Linked DNA regions of Homo sapiens: regions 1, 2, 3 and 4 are each linked to region 5. The links are contacts of gene promoters, found by promoter capture Hi-C in blood cells and fetal thymus (Javierre and others, 2016). All regions are on one chromosome and are shown on one strand. The core of a region is centred on a gene start or on the middle of the fragment in contact, and the rest is flanking DNA. Distances in the headings are between cores, read along the strand shown. Region 1 overlaps ABCC1 (ATP binding cassette subfamily C member 1 (ABCC1 blood group)). Region 2 overlaps ABCC1 (ATP binding cassette subfamily C member 1 (ABCC1 blood group)). Region 3 overlaps ABCC1 (ATP binding cassette subfamily C member 1 (ABCC1 blood group)). Region 4 overlaps ABCC1 (ATP binding cassette subfamily C member 1 (ABCC1 blood group)). Region 5 holds the start of MYH11 (myosin heavy chain 11).

What was found. The method cuts DNA at HindIII sites, captures the fragments that hold promoters and counts their contacts. A CHiCAGO score of 5 or more calls a contact.
Region 1: a contact is called between a fragment that was not itself captured here and the fragment with the promoter of MYH11 in region 5, in 7 of 17 cell types (megakaryocytes, M0 macrophages, M1 macrophages and 4 more). The highest score is 7.1, in megakaryocytes.
Region 2: a contact is called between a fragment that was not itself captured here and the fragment with the promoter of MYH11 in region 5, in 16 of 17 cell types (M1 macrophages, megakaryocytes, M2 macrophages and 13 more). The highest score is 15.0, in M1 macrophages.
Region 3: a contact is called between a fragment that was not itself captured here and the fragment with the promoter of MYH11 in region 5, in 2 of 17 cell types (megakaryocytes and erythroblasts). The highest score is 6.4, in megakaryocytes.
Region 4: a fragment that was not itself captured here is called in contact with the fragment with the promoter of MYH11 in region 5 in 10 of 17 cell types (endothelial precursors, megakaryocytes, erythroblasts and 7 more); the score reaches 10.2 in endothelial precursors.

What each region holds. Positions count from the first base shown.
Region 1 is chr16:16,015,394-16,018,093 of GRCh38, forward strand. ABCC1 (ATP binding cassette subfamily C member 1 (ABCC1 blood group)) reads left to right here. Exons shown (of 31, transcript NM_004996.4): 5 at 1,103-1,228. Among named protein-coding and RNA genes, the nearest start is that of ABCC1, 67 kb to the left of the region's middle. The HindIII fragment of the contact is 5,742 bases long and covers 1-2,700 here.
Region 2 is chr16:16,033,915-16,036,614 of GRCh38, forward strand. ABCC1 (ATP binding cassette subfamily C member 1 (ABCC1 blood group)) reads left to right here. Exons shown (of 31, transcript NM_004996.4): 7 at 2,558-2,689. Among named protein-coding and RNA genes, the nearest start is that of ABCC1, 86 kb to the left of the region's middle. The HindIII fragment of the contact is 7,809 bases long and covers 1-2,700 here.
Region 3 is chr16:15,996,156-15,998,855 of GRCh38, forward strand. All of the region lies in intron 1 of ABCC1 (ATP binding cassette subfamily C member 1 (ABCC1 blood group)), which reads left to right. Among named protein-coding and RNA genes, the nearest start is that of ABCC1, 48 kb to the left of the region's middle. The HindIII fragment of the contact is 6,033 bases long and covers 1-2,700 here.
Region 4 is chr16:16,056,639-16,059,338 of GRCh38, forward strand. The region is part of intron 12 of ABCC1 (ATP binding cassette subfamily C member 1 (ABCC1 blood group)); the gene reads left to right. Among named protein-coding and RNA genes, the nearest start is that of ABCC1, 110 kb to the left of the region's middle. The HindIII fragment of the contact is 3,716 bases long and covers 1-2,700 here.
Region 5 is chr16:15,855,616-15,858,315 of GRCh38, forward strand. MYH11 (myosin heavy chain 11) reads right to left here and starts at 1,413. Exons shown (of 41, transcript NM_002474.3): 1 at 1,326-1,413. RefSeq lists an enhancer at 2,459-2,700. The HindIII fragment of the contact is 5,018 bases long and covers 1-2,700 here.

The sequences.
Region 1 (2,700 bases), core at 25-2,524, 160 kb after region 5:
TCCCAAAGTGTTGGGATTACAGGCGTGAGCCACCACGCCTGACCTGGAGTGTGTGCTTTTGGAATAACCTGCTGTTCCTGCCATCTTGGAGCTAATTAGAGACTGGCATGAGGCAAAGGAAGGAAAAGAAGCTGAACATTTGACTATTGATTGCCTACATATTATTATGAGTGATAGCAGCTGATGCTGATTGAGTTCATGTTTTCAAAGTGCCTCGCAGGGGACTGTGTATGTGTCACGAATAATCTTCCTGACCTCTTGCAGTGACTTGGACAGAATTTCTCAGCCTCAGCACTAATCGACATTTTGGATTGGAGACTCGTTGGTTGTAGGGGCTGTCCTGTGCTTTGTAGACATTTAGGGGTGTCCCTGGCTTCCCCTGACTGGGTGCCATAACACTCCCAAGTTACCACAAAGAAGATATCCCCAGACACTGCCAGATGTTTCCTGGGAGGCAGAATCACCCCTGGTTAAGAACCACCGGTGGTTTATAGGTGGGGAATCTGAGGCACAGAAAGGTTAAATAAGTTGACAAGATCCCACAGCCAGTGTGAGAGAGCCAGGCCTTGATACAGCTCTGTTTCACTCCCAAGCCCTGTCTTCCTCCCATCAGGCAGCGGTGAGCAGTGAGACTACCCGTGATGGAGCCGGCTTTCTGCCATTACATCCCGGGGGGAGCTGGGAGCCCCTGGGGAGCCTGCAGTGTCCCTGTGGCTGAGTGGGTTTCTGCCACCTGCTCTCAGAATGTGATCTTGGTTTTTTTTTTTTTTTTTTTTTTGAGATGGAGTTTTGCTCTGTCACACAGGCTGGAATGCAGTGGCGTGATCTCGGCTCACTGCAGCCTCCGCCTCCTGGGTTCAAGTGATTCTCCTGTCTCAGCCTCCCGAGTAGCTGGGATTACAGTTGCCCACCACCACGTCTGGCCAATTTTTGTATTTTTAGTAGAGACGGGGTTTCACCATGTTGACCAGGATGGTCTCCAACTCTTGACCTCAGGTGTTCTGCCTGTCTCGGCCTCCAAAAGTGCTAGGATTACAGGCGTGAGCCACCACACCCAGCCCCAGAATGTGATCTTTTTCTTCCTTCCTTCCCCACCATGTAGGATGCCCAGGTGGACCTGTTTCGTGACATCACTTTCTACGTCTACTTTTCCCTCTTACTCATTCAGCTCGTCTTGTCCTGTTTCTCAGATCGCTCACCCCTGTTCTCGGAAACCATCCACGACCCTGTAAGTGTGACCACAGATGAGTGTGTGTGCGTGTGTGTGTGAGAGAGATGCGTGACACAGTACCAGCTAACATTTCTTAGATCCATCCAGGATCTCGTTCCAGCCTCCCTCAACCCCTGATACAGGGAATATCATCCCACCTACTTTACAGATGGAAAAACTGAGGCTTAGATGTGGCTGGGGGAGCTGAAGGAGAGAATCTGCTTTGTCATTGATGAACTGCTGTCTTGCAGGCCTGTAGGTTTCTCACTTGGCATGGTGATTTTGGAAAATGTGAGCAGATAATTACAAATCAGGTATTTTTTATGAATTCTAGCTGTCCAGATGTTCTGGAAAAGTAAAGTTCTGACAGATTAGGCCTATAATCCTACAGGGCAGAGCTGAGGAGTTGCTGGAGTCCCCGGCACTCCCTGTTGTATTATACTGGCATGCTTTCCTCACTTGTGGCAAATGCCTGGCCCCTGAGGGATTTGAGTGTGAGATCCTTGGTCTATTTTGTCAGTTTCAGAGAAATTCTGTAAATATGGAAACTTATCAGTGAGGAGTGTAGAGATGGCCACCGTTTCTGCTAGTAGAACAAAAGGGAACACTTTATTAATTTCCCTTAATTCTTTTCTTCTTTTTTTTGAGACAGGGTTTTGCTCTGTTGCCTAGGCTGGAGTGCAGTGGTGTGATCTCGGCTCACTGTAGTCTTGACCTCCTGGGCTCAAGCAATCTTCCTACCTCAGCTTTCTGAGTAGCTGGAATTACAGGCACACACCACCATGCCTGGCTAATTTTTTTTCTTTCTTCAACTTTTATTTTAAGTTCCAGGGTATAGGTACAGGATGTGCAAGTTCGTTACATAGGTAGATGTGTGCCATGGTGATTTGCTGCACAGATCAACCCATCATCTAGGAATCAAGCCCAGGATCCATTAGCTATTCCTCCTGATGTTCTCCCTACACCTGCTCCCCAACTTGGCTTACTTTTAATTAATTAATAATTAAAGATGGGGAGATGGTCTCAAACCCCTGGGCTCAAGCGATCCTCTTGCCTTGGCCTCTCAAAGTGCTGGGATTACAGGTGTGAGTCACCACGCCTCGCCTATTCTTTATTTTTTTAAATAGAGATGGGATCTTGCTGTGTTGCCCAGGCTCATGTGCAGCTTTTGATAAGAGAGATCTGGGAAGGCCTGCCCAGAAAACTGCATGTGAGCGGAGACCTAGAGGGGTGAGGTAGTGGGTGGAGCAAACACCTAGAGGAAGAGTGTTCCAGGCAGAGGGGAATAAGTACAAGGGCCCTGGGGTGGGGAGGTGTGGAGAGAACAGCAAGAAAAGCCAGCACAGCAGGAGAAGGCTAAGAGACAGTGGGTGCCTGAGAGGTGGGACAGCCCCCTTGTGAGCCAGATGAGCTGTTTGGGTTTTATTGTGAGTATGGGGCAGGGAGGCCTTGGAGCACCTATTTGATGCTGATTCATGGCTAGTCAGCTG
Region 2 (2,700 bases), core at 68-2,567, 180 kb after region 5:
ATGCCCAGCTACCTTCTGGTCCTCTTTTTGTATATCTTTTTCTGCCCGTTGTTAACATCTTAGTGGGGATTGTTTGAAGAATCTTTTTTTGCCCCTAATAAGCATCATCTTTTTTTTTTTTTTTTTTTTTTGAGACAGGCTTTCGCTCTGTCGCTGAGGCTGGAGTGCAGCGGCACACTTGTAGCTCACTGCAGTCCCAATCTACTGGGCTTAGGTGATGCTCCTGCCTCAGCCTCCTGAGTAGCTGGGGCTACAGGCACACTCCCCCATGCCCAGCAGATTTTTGTACTTTCTGTAGAGATGGGGTTTCATCATGTTGCCCAGGCTGGTCTCCAGCTTCTGAGCTCAAGTGATTCTCCCGCCTCAGCCTCCAGAGTGCTGGGATTACAGGCGTGAACCACCATGCCCGGTCTCATCCTTGTCTTAATGACAAACATCGTTTTAAAAAATTAGATGTTTTAAATAATTTCTTCAAGTTACTATTAAAAAGCATCACTGGGACAGTTGATGTAATTTGTTCATGACTACAGGACCCCGGATGCATGCTAATAACATTCATTCTTGTTTTGGAAAATTGTGCTCTAGTTACATAAGAGCATGTCCTGGATTGGAAGAGAATACCTCCAGTTTTTCTTGGGTAAAGGCATGTAGAGGCTGTATGTTAACTTTTTTTTTTTTTTTTTTTTTTTTTGAGATGGAGTCTTGCTCTGTCATCCAGGGTGCAGTGCAGTGGCAGGACCTCAGCTCTCTGCAACCTCTGCTTCCTGGGTTCAAGAGATTCTCCTGTCTCAGCCTCCTGAGTAGCTGGGATTACAGGGACCTGCCACCACATCCAGCTAATTTTTGTATTTTTAGTAGAGATGGAGTTTCACTGTGTTGTCCAGGCTGGTCTCAAACTCCTGACTTCAGGTGATCCACCCACGTCAGCCTCCCAAGGTGCTGAGATTACAGGTGTGAGCCACCATGCCAGCCCTTTAACTGTTTAAGTGGTTCAGAAAAAGATGATGTGTTTGCATGTGTGTGTGTGTTTGTGTGTGCATGTCAATGGATACAGACAGAGAATGATACTGCAAACGTGGCAACGTGTTAACAATGGTGAGTTGAGTGAATTCTTAGTATGATTTGAGTAATTTTTCTATAAGTTTGAAATTATTTTAGAACAAAACATGAAAGTATTTTACCTTTTATTATAAAAGTGTTTAGTCTGCTGGGCACGGTGGCTCATGCCTGTAATGTTAGCACTTTCAGAGGCCAAGGTGGGTGGATCACCTGAGGTCAGGAGTTCGAGACCAGCCTGGCCTACATGGTGAAACCCTGTCTCCACTAACAATACAAAAATTAGCCGGGCAGCACACGCCTGTAATCCCAGCTACTTGGGAGGGTGAGGCAGGAGAATTGCTAGAATACAGGAGGCAGAGGTTGCAGTGCACTGAGATGGCGCCATTACACTCCAGCCTGGATGGAGTGACATAGAAAGATTAATATAATAAAACTCAATAATCTCATCACCCAGATTTCATGCTTACTAATGCTTTGTCATGTCAGCCTTTTTATTTTTTAATTTTTTCCTTCAGCCTATTTTTTTTTTTTTCTTTTTATAGGGTCTGACTCTGTTGCCCAGGCTGGAGTGCAGTGACACAATGACGGCTCTTTGCAGCCTCCACCTCCTGGCCTTGAGCAATCCTGCCACCTCAGCCTCCCGAGTAGCTGGGACTACAGGTGCGAGCCATCATGACTGGCTAATTTTTTTATTTTTACTTTTCGTAGAGATAGTCTCCCTATGTTGTCCAGGCTGGTCTTGAACTCCAGGGCTCACAAAATCCTCCCACCTCGGCCTCCCAGAGCGCTAGGATTATAGACATGAGCTACCGTGCCTGGCCCATATCAGCCTTTTTTAATTTAAAATTTTAAAAAGTTGGCGGGGCACGGTGGCTTATGCCTATAATTCCAAGACTTCGGGAGGCCAAGGTGGGAGGGTTGCTTGAGCCCGGGGGTTCAAGACCAGCTTGGGCAACATAGGGAGACTCTTGTCTCTACAAAAATAAAAAATAAAAAAAAAATTAGCCAGTCATAATGGCTTACACCCAAAGTCCCAGCTACTCGGGAGGTTGAGATGGGAGAACCACTCTAGACCGGGAGCTGGAGGCTGCAGGGAGCTGCGATCGCACCACTGTACTCCATCCTGGGTGACACAGCGAGACCCTCTCTCCAAGTAAATAAATGAATGAACGAATAATAAAAAATAAAAAAGAGCTATCCTGATACTTCGCTCCTAAATCATCTTTTTTTCCCTAAGTCTTTTGTATGCACCACTAAAAAAAAAAAAAGCCATTTTTCCTGCATGACCCAACAGAATGAGCTGTAATTAGCTTGTAATATATGCAAATGTCCATCTGCATTCTGACTTCCCAAGCTGCATGGCTGCCTTCATTTGCAGCGGGCAGCTGTGCTGCAGAGGGGAGCAGCATCAGCAGGCGTGTGGAGTGAGTGAGCCCCGTCCTCCCCCTCCTCCTGTCATTGACTCTCATTGCCTAACCCCCTTGTGTCTTGGCCCCAGGTTGATTGTCCGGGGCTACCGCCAGCCCCTGGAGGGCAGTGACCTCTGGTCCTTAAACAAGGAGGACACGTCGGAACAAGTCGTGCCTGTTTTGGTAAAGAACTGGAAGAAGGAATGCGCCAAGACTAGGAAGTAAGTGTGAG
Region 3 (2,700 bases), core at 55-2,554, 140 kb after region 5:
TGTACATTTAGTAGAGAGAGGGTTTCACTATGTTGGCCAGGCTGGTCTCGAACTCCTGACCTCATGATCCGCCCGCCTCAGCCTCCCAAAGTGCTGGGATTACAGGCGTGAACCCCTCCACCCGGCCAGCTAAGTTTTTAAATTTTTTTGTAGAGATACAGTCTCACTGTGTTGCCCAAGCTGATCTGAAATTCCTGGCCTCAAACTATCCTCCTGCCTCTGCCTCTTCAAGTGCTGGGAAATATAGGCATGAGCCACTGCACCCAGCTGGTTGTGAGTTATTGAGATGGTTGAATTGGGAGTGGATGCTCAGGCCTCAGTGGAACTTGTGGTACACAGTATGTCCTCATTACCTCCCATCAGTGGCAGTTGAGATTCATAATCACTTTTTCTGCCTGTTGTCTGCCCCATCCTCTCTGTGGCCTTCCCTCCTGTCCTGGAGTTGGCTGGCTGGGTCCCTGGCAGGGCTGCATGCGTTATCCCTGCAGGCCTGCTTGCCTTATCCCTGCAGGCCCTGGTGGAGCATCTGTGCAGAACCTGTGCCATCCAGATGGGAGCAGTAAGGGTGTAGGGCAAAGTTAGTGAGCTGCCCGGTGCACGAGGACTTCCATGATAATCAGGGCTGAACCAGGAAGGCAGGTCAAGGCCAGGGTCATGTACAGAAAGGAGGTCAGCACCAGGATCTTGTATGGGAAGACTTAGATCAATGCCTAGTGCCTTAGTCATCATCATTCAGCCCAGAAAACATGACGCTATGCAACAGGAATTTTATGAACACACAAAGGTCAGGGGCCACTCGGACTTGGACGGGGTCCCCAACTCTTTGAGTGTCAGGGCTGAGGGCATGGAGACACAACTTGATCAAGCTGGTGAAGTGTCCAGCAAGGAGAAGCCTCTGTTGGAGGGAGCCGGGAGCTGGGGAGGACATGCGCTTTCTCTTTTTTTTTTTTTTTTGAGACGGAGTCTCGCTCTATCGCCCAGGCTGGAGTGCAGTGGTGCAATCTCGGCTCACTGCAACCTCTGCCTCCTGGGTTCAAGCGATTCTCCTGTCTCAGCCTCTCACGTAGCCGGGACTCAGGCCTGTGCCACCACGCCTGGTGAATTTTTTTGTATTTTTAGTAGAGACGGGGTTTCACCATGTTAGCCAGGATGGTCTTGATCTCCTGACCTCGTGATCCACCTGCCTTGGCCTCTGAAAGTGCTAGGATTATAGGCGTGAGCCACCGCGCCCAGCCGACTTGCGCTTTCTCTGTAAAGATTTCTGTGGGCCAGGTTCCCCAAAGGGCAGGCCCTGGGCCAGTGCAGTGACCGGTGACCGTGTTCAGGACTCATCTCTTGTGGCTGAATTGTGTGTCTGGAGAGTTGGGTCCTTCTGATTCTGCTCAGAGCGTGGTGGGCCTGGCTGGATTTCCCTAGATTAGGAAGCAGCCTCGGGTAGCTGTGATTCTTTGAGTTGGGAACAGCAAGTGGCCTGCAGACTGCCAGGGAATCGTCCCTTCCTTGAGCCTTTAGGTATTGCCCATTATTCACCGTTTTTCCCAGAAGCCTCCAGTAGTGAGAGTCGCACTTCTTACCTCCTGGAGTTGTTAAAGTAAAGAAGGACACATTAGGGTCCCTGCCGGTAAGGAACATCCAGGAGGCCTCGATACCTTTTTTTTTTTTTTTTTTTTTTCCCTGAGACAGAGTCTCGCTCTGTCACCCAGGCTGGAGGACAATGACCTGATCTCTGCTCACTGCAACCTCCACCTCCTGGGTTTAAGCGATTCTTGTGCCTCAGCTGCCCGACTAGCTGGGATTACAGGCATTTGCCACCATGGCTGGCTAATGTATTTTTTTTTTCTTTTTCAGTAGAGATGGGGTTTCACTATGTTGGCCAGGCTGGTCTTGAACTCCTGGCCTCAAGTGATCTGCCCTCCTCAGCCTCCCAAAGTGCTGGGATTTCAGGTGTGACCCACTGCGCCCAGTCCCGATACTTTGTTTCTTTGAGACAGTCTCTTACTCTGTCACCCAGGCTGGAGTGCCTGGGTGGGACGATCAAAGCTCACTGCAGCCTCAAGCCCCTAGGCTCAAAAGATCCTCCCACTTCAGCCTTCTGAGTAGGTGGGACTACAGGCCTGCACTACCACGCCTGGATAATTTTTAAATTTTTTTGGTGAAGACAGGGTCTTACTTTGTTGCCCAGGCTTTTCTTGAACTCCTGAGCTCAAGCAATCCTCCCGCCTCAGCCTCCCAAAGTGCTGGGTTTACAGGCGTGAGCCACTGTGCCCGGTCCTCAGATGATCTTAGCTTTGTGACCTATGCTGTTGGCCGCTGTAGGGGCTGTGATGGAGGTGATGTGGGGGTGGATGGCAGGGGTGACCCGTGTTGGCTGCTTTCTGTAACAGTCATAGTTCATGGTCAGAGTCAGATTTCCTCTCGTCATGCCTTCCTTCCCTTCCTTCTGCTCCCTCCCACAGCCGCCCTTTGGGTCTGGGCTGGCCATCTGGCTCTGAGCAGGAAGCTAGCCTGTGCTCTTCAATTTGCTTTCTGCAGGGGAAACACCTTCCTTTGCTCAGCGTTTCCTGACCTCTCCTTCCCTGGAGTTCCGGTGTCCTTAAATGCTCTCTGGTTTCTTCTGTAGCTTACTTTCTTGCTTGAAAGGACAACTTTTCTTTGTCCTTTAGACTTCTTATCTCTGGGCAATACAGTGGTGGTGGCAGT
Region 4 (2,700 bases), core at 135-2,634, 200 kb after region 5:
AGCCTGGGCGACAGAGCAAGACCTTGTCTCAAAAACAAACAAAAAAGTCACTATGTCAGCAAGGCCTTCCCTGAACACTTGGTTTAAACATTTGCCATCTTCTCCATTCTCCTTTGTTTTATTCACACTTAGCAGCTTCTAGCCAACCTGTGTAGGAACCGTTCGTTATCTATTTACTGTGATATAAGGAGCTTGTGCCAGAATGTAAACCAGTGCCCCCTGCTTCCTGCATTAAGATAGCCTTGCAAGACAAAAAGTGCGAGCTGAGTCGAACGGCACGCTTGGTGCCATAGTTGATCTACATTGTGGTGCTGCGTCCTTATTTTGTCACCAACTGGTCACAAAGTGTGGATTGTCAGTGTCTCATAGGCCACATGTCAAGTGGCATGGTCTAAACACACTCTAAAATTTACTTATTTTGGGCTGGGTGCGGTGGCTTGTGCCTGTAATCCCAGCCCTTTGGGAGTCCAAGGTGGGTAGATCACTTGAGGCCAGGAGCTCGAGACCAGCCTGGCCAACCTGGTGAAACCCTGTTACTGCTTAAAAAAAAAAAAAAAAAAGAAAGAAAAAAAAAGCTGGGCATGGTGGTGCATGCCTATATTCCCAGCTACTCAGGAGGCCGAGACATGAGAATCCCTTGAACCTGGGAGGCTGAGGTTGCAGTGAGCCGAGATCGAGCCACGGCACTCCAGCCTGGGCAACACAGCAAGACCCTGTCTCAAAAAAGTAAAAAAAAAAAAAAATAAGTAAAATAAAATGTACTTATTTTATTGTCTGCTTTTCCCCCACTAGGATGTCAGCTCCAGATGGGCATTTTTGTCGTTTCTCTTGACTGCTGTATCCTCAGTATATAAAACAGTGCATAGCAGGTGCTGAACAAATATTGTCATCCATTGTAAAAAAAAAAAAATACAGAAAGATATAAAATGAAAAGTATATTGTCCTCTCTTCCATCAGTTCCTCCCTTCTAAAGTGACAGTTTCGTGTACGCTTTTAGAGAAAAATGGACAAGCATATAGGTATTTAAAAATACTTTGACAGATATAAATGGAATCATACTGTACATAGTGTTCTCTTTTCTTTGGTTAACAATATATAGTCTTGGTTCGTTCATTCTGGTCTACTTCATTTTAGTTTTTTGGGGGGTTTTGTTTTGAAATGGGGTCTCGCTCTGTCCCCCAGGCTGGAGTACTGTGGTGCGATCATAGCTCACTGCAGCCTTGAACTCCTGGGCCCAAGCAATCCTCCTGCTTTAGTTTCCTAAGTAGCTGGGACTCCAGGTGCACTGCTACCACTCCCAGCTTGTTTCATTTGTGTTCATGATGGATGCTTGTCTGACGTGCAGATGCGCCCTGCTGGAATTACCCTTTCTCCCATTCCTTGCAAAAACAGGTTGTTCCCTGTTTTTTTTGCTGTTATGATCCATGCTACACTGAAAGTTCTGGTACCTGTCCTGGGGTATGGTAATGGGTCTATCCCTGCCTAGCTGGCTTTGAAAAGTTTAAAGACAACAGTGCAACTTACAATTTGCAAAGTTGGCCGCAAATCAGGAGACCATACAGAGATGGACTTTGGAAATTCCCTTTTTAAGCACAGTTAAAAACAGTTAATGGTGAAGGATGACTTCAGATCATGCCCCATGTTTGTTTTTTCTTTCTGTCTTTTTATTAACTGTGTCATTCTTTTTGTAATGTTGTGCTCATTACAACTATTCCTTCTTGGTCAGGTTGGCAAATTATATGTTTTTCTGGCAAGTTTCTGTGAAGCAGAGTTAAACATGTTTATGAATATGAACTTTTCTGTTAAACTACCATCTGCTTCATCTTTGTTGAGTTTCAGGTGGAATGTCTAAGGAAGCTCCAGCTGTTTCAGCATTTGCGAAAGCGTGTTCATGCTCCCACTGAATTTTCTTAGTCTTGCCTTACTTCTCTCAGGGTCTGGAACTGCAGGAGAGATGGTGTTCAAATTCAAGCCTGCATCAGAATCACCTGGAGAGCTTGTTATTATATTTTATTATTTATTCATTTATTGAGATGAAGTCCCAGTCTGTCACCCAGGTTGGATTGCTATGGCACTATCTTGGCTCACTGCAATCTCTGCCTCCCGGGTTCAAGCGATTCTTCCACCTCAGCCTCTGAGTAGCTGGGATTACAGGCATGCAGCAACCATGCTCAGCTAATTTTTAAAATATCTTTAGTGTAGAGATGGTGTTTCACCATGTTGGCCAGGCTGGTCTCGAACTCCTGACCTCAGGAGATCTACCCGCCTTGGCCTCCGAAAGTGCTGGGATTACAGGCATGAGCCACAGTGCTGGCTGTTAGCTTGTTACTATAAAACTCAGCTTTCTGGGCCCCACCCAAATTTTCAGTTTTAGTAGGTCTGGTTGGGGCCTGAGTATTTGCTTTCCTAACATATCCCTAGGTGCTGCTGCTTCTGGTTCAGGTTGACATGTAGAGACACCGGAGTGGATCCTCACTGCCTAAAGTCTGGTCCGTGGACCAGCAGCCATGGCATCACCTGGTGCTTGTTAACGGTGCAGAATTTCAGGCCTCAGCCCAGATCCACTGAAACGGAATCTGAGTTGTAACTAGTTCTCTAGGTGGTGTGTATGCACATTAAATTTCGAGAGAGACTGGCAGAAAGTAGGAGTAAAGAAACTTTTTCTGTAAATACTTTCGGAATTCCGGGCCATACAGTCTC
Region 5 (2,700 bases), core at 163-2,662:
TAAATGTTGCAACAGCATGTGGCACTGAAGTGTTCCATCAACGGTAGCTATCTCAAAGGGAAAACATCAATTTCCTTCAAACAAAATTCTCTATCTTATTTCACACCCTGCCACCTAATGACTTTCAGTTCAGCGTCAAGTTCCGTCTCTGAACAATTCTAAAATAGTATCGTTGAGTAAATCAAAGAAACAAAAAACTATGCAAAGCAGTTTATTAATAGCCTGCATTCTTTTTGCCAAACCCCGGACGGACAGTTCACCATTTAATCTCTCAGTTCTTCATACTGCAACTAAACACTCCCACCTTGGGTTTCTAAATATTTTCTTTTACTTCTTGACAAGCATGGCTTTGGATGGTACCTTTTCTCAAGTGGCAAAATCCCTACCAGACCCTGTGCTGGAAGAAAACTTACAACAGGCAGTAGCCACACTTTCTCTCGTTTTACCCATTTGGTTGGGCACGAGAGTGGCATTGACACAGGTGGCTCTGCGGGAAATTCTAGTGTAATCTTACCTAACGCACCTGCAGATCGTGGAAGCAAATGGAGACTTTGGAGCCCACCTGGGTATCTGGGGGCCCTTTGGGGTCAACCTGGGTGAGTTGTTTTTTTTTTTTTTAATTTGGAGAAGAGGAAAAAGTGGGCTGTAACAAACTAGATCACAACCAGCCTTATCTCCCAGGGGTTCTCAACATAGAAGAACCTCCCCTAAACTGATTAAAAAAAAAAAACAACAACACTCCTTTCTGCTAAGCCTATGCCCATGTGTTTTTAACTGATTTAATGCATTATCAACACAACTGTGCAATACGGTCAAATCCACAAGGAGCCTCACTTTGCCCTTCTGTGTGATAGCAAGTGACTTTTCAGTGAAGTTCAGCTGTAAATTTTTTGGTGCCTAGAATAAAAGTGAGATGCCTTGATTGTCTGCACCGGACCTCTGAGATTTCCAAGGGAGCATATCTCCTGGATTAGCCTCTTAACAAGAATCACTCGGGACTAATTTTTTTTTTTTTAAGGCAGTTTTTCTGGGGATTCTAGAGTTGGGAAATGGAGTTGGGTCCAGGCATTGATATCGTTAATAAGCACCCCCAAAATGGTACTTCTCACTGGCAATCTTAAGAAATGCTGTTTGGGGAAAGTCTAGGATAATCTAAGACGATAAGGCAGAGAGAGATCCAAATCACAACTCTGCCCCCACCATGGCCCTTACGAGGTTGACAACAGGGACCCCTAAGTGCACCCCAGCCCCTATAGAATACCCTATAGGACTTTTAACACCCCCCTGCCCTGCAATCTGCCCCCAGAATGACAACTACTACTTACAGATCTCCAACTGGGGGGACTAGTGGAGAGGAAACTGGATGGCGAGCTCGGATCTGACGCACCTCCCAGGCCGGAGCGTCCAAATCTCCCTGCGCGTCCTCGGACGCCTCTCTTTATAGACCCGGAGCTGCCCGCGGCTGGGAAAGGGGAGGAGGCCGAAGGGGTGGAGTTGGGGAGGGTCCCTCGCGGCCCCCTCGCCGCGCCCCCTGCAGGGCGCACCCCCGGCGGGAGCGCAAGGAGCTGGGGCGCTCGGGACAAGGGTGCACGGAACAGGTGCGCACCGCACAAGGGCGCACGGAACAGGTGCGCACAGGGACGGGAGTCTCAGCCCCGGCCCCAGGCGGTCGCAGACGCTCCGGATCCCTAGAGAAAGGGGGTCGAGCAGGCAGTGTCTGTGCGGGATGCTTGAGAACGTCTTCCCTGAGTCGGTTCCGGCCGCAAAGGCTTTAACCTCTTCCTCCCCGTGTCGGGGCTGTGGTGGATCTGACTTGACATCTCCCACCCCACTTCCCATTTTATTGGCATCGCACTGTCTGGAAAGAGGGCCGGCTGTGCAGCGTGAAGGGTAGGGAAAGGGGATTTCTTGAACTTTGCAAAGTGCAAGACAGGAGGCCCCCACCCTTGCTGGGAACCGTGCAGGAAGGGGAAGTTTTTACTTTTCCCAACTTGCCATCTCCACCTCCACCCACATCACCACGACCAAAATACAAATAAAAATTAAAAATAAGCCCACTGTGATTATTTCAGCTGTCCCCCTCCCCTGTGCGCCACTCGCCAGCTGCGTGACCTTGGGCAAGTCACTTCACTTCTCTGAGACTTGGTGTCCATAGCTACAAAATGGGGGAAGGCGGTGGCGGTGATAATTACGTTATTTACAAGATGCAAGTGTCAAGATCCAAGGAGAAAGTGGGTGTGCCCCCAGAGTCTGCGAGTTCCCTTCAACAACTTCCCTTCCCCAAGGATTCCTCGCCTAAAATTGCATTCCCTGTCTCTCTCCATCACAGGCTCTCTCGCTCTGTCTCTGCCACTGTCTCTGCATGTCTGTCACTCTGATCATTGCTGTCTCTCGCTCTATCTTTTGTCTCTGTCCCTCTCGCTTCTCTAGATCTGTCGATGTATCTGTCTCTCCCTCCTGTCTCACTTTGTCTCTGGTCTCTGTGTCTCTTGCTCTCCATCTCTCCCGCGTGTCTCACTCCTATCTCTGCGCTTTCTCTCTCTCTCTTCCCCAGGCTCTCCGTCTTCTCCCCGTCCCTCCCTCCCCGCTCCTGTCCACGCACGCACACACAGGCCATAAAAGGAAGTCGAGGCGGTGGGCTGGCCCCGCGCCAGGCCGGGGACCCGCGGGCAGCCCGGGCGCTCCGCTCCCCGCGCGGCA